Regions from separate parts of the Homo sapiens genome. Here region 2 is linked to region 1. The links are contacts of gene promoters, found by promoter capture Hi-C in blood cells and fetal thymus (Javierre and others, 2016). All regions are on one chromosome and are shown on one strand. Each heading gives the region's core, a stretch centred on a gene start or on the middle of the fragment in contact. The rest is flanking DNA. Distances are from core to core; before and after follow the strand shown.

Region 1 (3,814 bases), core at 959-3,458:
TATGCCGGGCGCGATGGCTCACGCCTGTAATCCCAGCCCTTTGGGAGGCTGAAGCGGGTGGATCACGAGGTCAGGAGTTCAAGACCAGCCAGGCCAAGATGGTGAAACCTCCGTCTCTACAAAAATACAAAAAAAATTAGCCGGGCATGATGGCGGGGTGCCTGTAATCCCAGCTACTCAGGAGGCTGAGGCGGAAGAATCGCTCGAACCCGGGAGGCGGAGGTTGCAGTGAGCTGAGACCGTGCCATTGCACTCCAGCCTGGGCGACAGAGTGAGACTCCGTCTCAAAAAATAAAAATAAAAAAAAAATAAAAAGGAGTAGGCCTCTACTTCCCAAATGTAAACAAGACATACACATTTTTAAATTAACTGTATTTCCCTCATAAAACAGTTACAAAATACAATTATTTTCAAAGCAAATTTCTCAAAGACCCAGCAAGATGTTCACATCTGAAACAAAGTCTTAGGTAGTGAACACTGACTGCAGGCACCAGGGGGCCTCCCAGGAATAACTTGATAGTAAAGGAAAAGGTAAATAAGAGTTCCTGGTAAAACTTTTGCTTCCTATTCAGTCTTAAGACTGCTGGATGGCTTTCACATCTGGAGCAAATACACAGTATTTAGTTACAGAACAGGTACTCACAGAACTTGGGTTTGAGATACCGACACATACTTTGAGAAAAAGGAATTACCCCTCCCCCATTACAATATTCTTTGATGATTTTCCAAATATAAGTACATACTGCTTCACTCTAGCAATTATCTTAAGGTAATTTGAAAGCAAACAGTACATATGCAATCGCTGGACGGCGGCTAACAAAGAGGCCTCTAAATTGTTTAAAAAGGATTAAAGGCTTTTCTACACACTCACAAAACAATTATTGATGACGAAAACTTTAGGGTAGAGGGACTGTTTGGCAGAAGACTGCATTTAACTTTGAATAATATCCTGCAATGAATCAATACATTTAACTCCCGGCTAGTCCACCTCTTCGTTTTCCCCCCTTGCCTTCCCACCAACATAAAACTATTCAATAAGAACACTTGAGCCCGGAAAGTTCAAATGCTGCGTAGACCTACAAATACCTTTCGAATACAAGACAGGCTTTAAAAATAGATTTTCACTAAGTTTGTGCAGAAATTAAGCTCTGCTCAAATCAAATGCAAAAGCCAATCCCTTCAGCAAACCCATCTACATACATCACATTTCTTAGGTGCATCTTCAACCTGATCAAATATCTTGTCTTACAATTTTTTTAGGCCAAGTAACAAACGGTAGATTAATTCCCGCTAATTTTATCCTCTCTTTAAGAAGAATCCATTCTATATAGCATTGTGTAAAAATGCAGAGCAGACGAAGCAGTCCTGTTAAGGACAGGTTTATATATATATACGTAAAATTCACTCCCGGAACGACAATCGGAGGCAGCCAAGGGCAATGCACAAAGAGAACAGAGAAGAACAGTGATTCCACGGACGCACAAAGCCCAGTGGCAGGCATCCTCTCCCCATCCTCGGGTCACCGGAGGCGAGCACCACGGCGCGCGGAGCCCGGCGGCCTTTCCGAAAGGCTGTCTCCCGCAGACCCGCTCCGCACAGCCTTCGGCCGGCGGGCCTGGCCCCCGAGGGTCCGCGGGAACGGCCCCCTCTCCCCCGATCTCCCCTGACCGCGCTCCCAGAGGCCGCTCCCCCGCGCCCAGAGCCTCCTCGCCCCCTCCTCGGTTCGTCCGCCGCGCCGCGCTCCCAGAGACTCGTCTCGGGGCGGGAAAGGGGTCCCCTCGCGTTCCGGCGGCAGACGGGGACGCAGGGGTCGGCGGCGGTGCCCGACCTCCCTCTGTCCCGCGGCCAGGCGCGCACTCACCCTCCAGCAGCCGGGTGATGAGGCTGTCCACGTTCAGCTCCCCGTCCGCCATCTTGTCGGCACAGACTCTCCTTCCCAGCAGCGGGAACAAGGGCTTCTCGGCGGCGGAGGCTGCGGCGACGGCTCGGCGTTCTCTCACCTACAAGTCACGCGGCGTTTCGACCCCGGCTCCAACTCCCCCTTTTCCCGGGCCCTCCCCCCACCCCCTCCCCGCCGGGTAGCGAGAGCGCGCGCACACTCGGAGGCACCCACGGAAAATAAATAAATAAACAAGAGAGGCCCCCTCGAACAGGGCCGCGTCAGACCCAGGCCGCCACCTCCTCCTCCTCGGCACCGCCCAGCTCCGCAAAGCTCACCAGCGCCGCCGACGGCCCCACCCGCAGCGCCACTCACTCCGCACGTCCCTTGCGCGCCGCCGCGTCACGCAGCTCTCCGCGCAGGCGCGCGGTGCGCTCCCCGCCGAGGCTCCCCTCGACGCCTGGGCCGCCGCGCAACCGCACTGGAGCGGCTTCTCCCGCTGCCGTCTTCGCGCAGGTGCGTCGCCCTCTCTCCACGTCCACGGCGCCGAGTCTCGCCACGGTGGCGCAGGCGCCAGGGAGGTTCCCCGGCTTTGCCGCGCGGAGGAAGTCCCGGTTACGCAGAGCGCGCTGGGGCAGGGCTGACCTTCCCCTTTCTCTACTTCACTGGCCTCCTCCAGACGTGGTGGTTGCGCCCTTTCGGCCTCGCTTTCCGTTTTTTGGCTTCATCCCCTAGATCTGCAAACAGTTCCTCGTGTTTCTTCCGTTAGCCGGGAAACGCGAACTGCAGCGTTTGGGACCCGGGTTTGCGCGTGTGGAAAGCAAAAGGGGTTACTCTGCTGGAGTTCGACATTGCAAATAAAGGTCTTTATCCCCGGCGGTTCTACAAAATTAGTTCTGCAGGGATTCTGGTTGAAAGAAGCGTTAAAGTGGGCCTTGTAGGAGTCAGCAATAATCCAATTTTACATGGGTGCAGGTGGCTGCCTGTGTCTAGCGCTTTCACACATCTCATATCTTCATCCACGCCGTGGGTATTTTTTTTCCACGGTGTGTTTCTGTTGCTGCCTCCAGTATATTGCTTAATCATCCTACCTGGTAATTATTTATGCATTTTTCTCCTACTCTCGACTCAGCTCCTAGGGAATAAAAACACATTAACTTATCTTTGTGCCCACAGCACCCACCAAGTATTTCCATCACGTAATACTGCCTCTAGAAAGGCAGGAGGAGAAGCAGTCACGCTAAGGATCTAGGCAAGCCAGATCTTTTGTCCGGTTTTAGGAGGTGGCCAGCCCTTACTTATTCCACAAGTGTTTTTCCAGAAACTCAGACTTGATATTGCCTCAAGTCCAAGGCAGTGTGCTTCCCCCACTCACATATCACTAATAGTAGCTAACATTTGTTCAGATCCCTGTATGTACTCTGCCACTGTTTTAAATGTTACACCCGGGTTACCTCATTTAATCCTTACAACTGCCCTGTGAGGTAGGTACTATTATTATCTCTACTTTGTAGATGGGATTCACCGAGGCACAGACGGTTAAAAAACCTAGCCCAAATAACACAAATAAACAGCAGAGCATGCAGTGCTAGAGTCTGCATTCTTAACAATTGCTATATTCTCCCTCTCCGTGAATGTGGGCTGAGATGCTGAAACAGGCATGTGCTGTGGGGGAGAAAAAGCTTTGTCCAACCAAGTGCTTTCTAATGTCCAGATGACATAGAGCTAGGATTTCCTAATGTCTTTTTTCCCCTATTTTTCTCTCCATTTCAGGGTTGAGTTTGTGCATCGATTGTGAACACAACAGGCAGCAGGCTATAATGGTGGTCCTGGCTGGAGTAGTTTTCACAGACTTCAGTAATCTGTGGAGATGAACGGGCAGTTCTCTGTAGTTTTCACAGATCACTGCCAGTTCGTTTTGAGGCCTTCAGGAGT
Region 2 (3,814 bases), core at 408-2,907, 870 kb after region 1:
ATCATGATTATATTAGTTATCTACTGCTGCTGTAACAAATTACCAAATTTAATAATTAACGCAAGTTTATTTTTTTACTGTTCTGGAGGTCAGAAGTCTGATACAGGTCTCACTGGGCTAAAATCAAGGTGTCAGCAGGGCTGGGCTCCATTCTGGAGACTCTAGAGGAGGATCTGTTTTCTTTCCTTTTCCACCTTCCAGAGGCTGCCCACATCCTTGGCTCATCGTGGCCCCTTCCTCCATCTTCAGAGCCAGCAATGGTTGTTCAGGTCTTTCTCACATTACATCACTCTGATCCCCAGTCTTCTGGCTCCCTCTTCTACATTATAAGAACTCTTGTGATTACATTAGGCACAACCAGATAATTCAGAATAATCTCTTTATTTTATGGTGACTTATTAGGAACCTTAATTTCCCCTTGCCACGTAACAACATATTCACAAATTCTGGGGATTTGGATGTGGACATACTTTGGGAGAGGGGAGCAGAGAGTATGTTATTTTTGCTACCACAGTGGTTAAGCTTGAAGTAAAAAATCCTACAATATTTAGTTCTCAGAGACTCTTTGAAGCCTATCATTCTATCCTCACATTTTACAAGTGAGATAAGGAAGAGAGCTTCAATGACTTACTCCAAATCACACAGCCAGTAAGTGGTTACTTACTGGCTAGTAAGTGGCTAGTAAAGGCTACTACCCAGGTCTCCCAATCCTTAACCTTTCTTTTTTATTTTTTTAAATATATATTTTCTATTTTTTATTTTGTTAAAGATGGGCTCTCGCTATATTGCCCAGGCTGGTCTTGAACCCCTGGGCTCAAGCGATCCTCCTACTTGGTGTCCCAAAGTGCTGGGGTTACAGGCGTGAGCCACCGTGCCTGGCCCCAATTCGTACCTTTCCATTATATCATTCTACCTCTAACTCTGACTAGTGTTTATTGCCCTTTTCATCTACAGTACATTTGATAGCTTGTAGTCTGTACATTCATTGTTAACTTTATAAACTGATAAGGAATAACAACTAAGGATTTATAATTTTCAAGTCTAAAGATAGTATCTTTATTACTGTGCCTTATTCCTAAATTTAACTGTAACTAGCCTGGACACGCATGCCTATTCTTTAGTATCACTTCAGAAATAAAACTGCTTCAATAACTAAGCCCTTTTAGATGGCATCCAAGCCCAACTTACTTTATATATTACATTACTGTGTGCCAGACACTGCTAATTCAATCAATGAATAACCTTTTTTTTCATTTCTAATTTCAGTCAGCTATGAATAGTAAGTCGTATGTAGTAATAATTTTTAAAAATCATTAGCTCATACAGCATGGCAAACAATTGAAATTATTTAATACTCACTTATATTTTTCTCATCATCCTCTTCCTTCTTGAACACTCATCTCTAAAGTTACACATTACAAAGATACAAGGAATCAACCCTGGTCTTATGGGATATAAAGTCAAAGATTTTCCAAAGACAGATTTCCACAACAAAACAACAATGTGTGAATATTTTTAGACGTTAGGCTCATAGGCCTTTGTTAATCATGTTTTCATTAGTAAACCTTATTTTTTATGACCTGTATCACCCATTTTTTTAATTATTCATTCAAGAAATATTTATTGAATTTATACTATGTGCCAGGCACTTCCTGATGTGCAGAGGATACAGCAGTGAAAACACAGACAAAAATCCCTGCCTCATGAAGTTTACATTCTAGTAAGACAGTATCAGTAGAAATAAGTTAATTACATAGTAAGTTAGGTAAAAGCTAAGGAGAAAAATTAAACATGTAAGGAGGGATGGGAATAGGAAGTTTAGATTACTGGCTTCAGAAAGCCTCACTGAAAAGGTTATTTAGAGTAAAGACCTAAAGGAGGAAAGAAAACAAGTCATAATCTGAGGGAAGAGCATTCCAGGCAGAAGGAATAGTGTACTCAAAGGCCGTATTCAGTGAAGAACATGGAGTCCAGTATGGATGAAGAAGAAAAAAAGAGTCAGGAGACAGCAATCAGTGATTAAAGGACATTGAGTCATACTTTGGATGAGATGAAAAGCTAGTGGAGGATTTGAGCAGGGGAGTGACATAATCTTATTTTGATTATAATAGGATCTCTCCAAGGGCTATATGAGAATAAATAGCATGAAGGGGAAGGCAAATACAGAAGCAGGGACACAAATTCAGAGTCAATCCCAACAATCTAGGCAAGAAATGATGGTAGCTTGAAAGCAGTGAAGTGGAGAGAAAGCATCTTTCTATTATATTTTTGGGGTAGAGTTGACAGGATTAGTGGAAGTTGACCTCTATGAAAACGCAGAAGATTGTATGCAGAGAAAGTTGGGTGGGAGAGGGCTGTATCAGGAGCACAGAGTGGAATTGGGAGGGTTGAGGTACCTACTAGATATCAAATTGAGGAGGTGAAGAAAATAGATACAAGAGTTTGGATCTCAAAGGAGAGGTCCAACCCGGAGATATAAATTTCAGAGTCATCAGTGTATCAATGGTATTTAAAGCCATGAGGCTGGATGAGATCACTGAGGGTCTGACCTCCTAGGGCACTACAACATTTAAAGGATAAATTTTTAATAAAATTGACTTCCTGTCTCTCTTCAAGTCTCTCTGCAGTCCTAAAACTTGCTTTGAGACGTGCTTAATACAAACCTATGTTTATATTTCCATAGCAATAGACTCTGATGTCAACTAAAACTCTGTGTTATCTTTTTACATGCTGCCAATTAAAAGTGATGGCTTGAGAGATAAGACTCGTGTTCACCCAAGCATCTAAGCTTAATCCTGCCAAATCAGGAAATGAGTGCCTAATTTTCAAAAGGTTTAATTGGATAGTGGAATAAGTGAATTTAGAAGCTTTTAGATCCAAAGCGGATGAAGCATTGGACCTAGATTACTTAAAAAAAAAAAGTTATGGCCAGGCATAGTGGTGGCTCAAGCCTATAATCCCAGCACTTTGGGAAGCCAAGCGGGTGGATCGCTTGAGCTCAGGAGTTAAGACTAGCCTGGGCAACATGGCAAAACCCGGTCTCCGCAAAAAATACACAAATTAGCTGGGCGTAGTGGTGTGAGCCTGTAGTCCCAGCTACTGGGGGGCTGAGGTGGGAGGATCGCTGGAGACCCAGAGGTTGAGGCTACAGTGAGCCTCGATTGTACACTGTACTTCAGCCTGGACAACAGAGTGAGACCCTGTTAAACATAAAAAAATAAAAGAGAGTTATACTGTACCTATCAAAGTTTGTATTTGTTTGACATAATAGAGTACTTTGTAACTGGGACACAGGTTACAGAGTCAAGAAGCCTCTTGGCTTGTCATATTTAGAACAGAGAAATCTCTTTTACAGTCACATTTTCAAAAACTAAAAAAGGAATATTGATCCAAAAAGTATCATGCTTTCCCAGTATTCGAGGAATATAATATCCTTCATTATTCTTTCTGCTTCTTAAATTGGTCTGAAAAGTTGCTTATCAGTTACCAATCATTTATTAAATTAGTATTTTGTTAAACATAGTTGTGTCAACTGTATTCCCTAATATCAAAAGTAATCATTCATGGGAAATTTGGTATGTCCCTTTAATGAAAATATACATTAAAAAATTATGGCTGGGTGCAGTGGCTCATGCCTGTAATCCCAGCACTTTGGGAGGCCGATGTGGGAGGATTGTTTGAACCCAGGAGTTTAAGACCAGCCTAGGTAACAGGGTGATGAGACTCTGTCTCTTAAAAAAAAAAAAAATTGCATATGACAAAGAAAGAGCACCTACTGTGTACTATTACAAAGCAGTCCCTTTAGCAATCCATT

Evidence for each region. The method cuts DNA at HindIII sites, captures the fragments that hold promoters and counts their contacts. A CHiCAGO score of 5 or more calls a contact.
Region 2: a contact is called between a fragment that was not itself captured here and the fragment with the promoter of PPP1CB in region 1, in 1 of 17 cell types (total B cells). The highest score is 5.3, in total B cells.

Annotation. Positions count from the first base shown.
Region 1 is chr2:28,750,224-28,754,037 of GRCh38, reverse strand. PPP1CB (protein phosphatase 1 catalytic subunit beta) reads right to left here and starts at 2,208. Exons shown (of 8, transcript NM_002709.3): 1 at 1,862-2,208. The coding sequence starts at 1,913. It overlaps PPP1CB-DT (PPP1CB divergent transcript), which reads left to right and starts at 2,282. Exons shown (of 5, transcript XR_007086259.1): 1 at 2,282-2,395; 2 at 3,653-3,814. RefSeq lists silencers at 1,556-1,775, 2,266-2,455 and enhancers at 1,638-2,282, 2,586-2,795. The HindIII fragment of the contact is 5,134 bases long and covers 1-3,563 here.
Region 2 is chr2:27,883,660-27,887,473 of GRCh38, reverse strand. The region is part of intron 1 of RBKS (ribokinase); the gene reads left to right. Among named protein-coding and RNA genes, the nearest start is that of RBKS, 4.8 kb to the left of the region's middle. The HindIII fragment of the contact is 2,266 bases long and covers 525-2,790 here.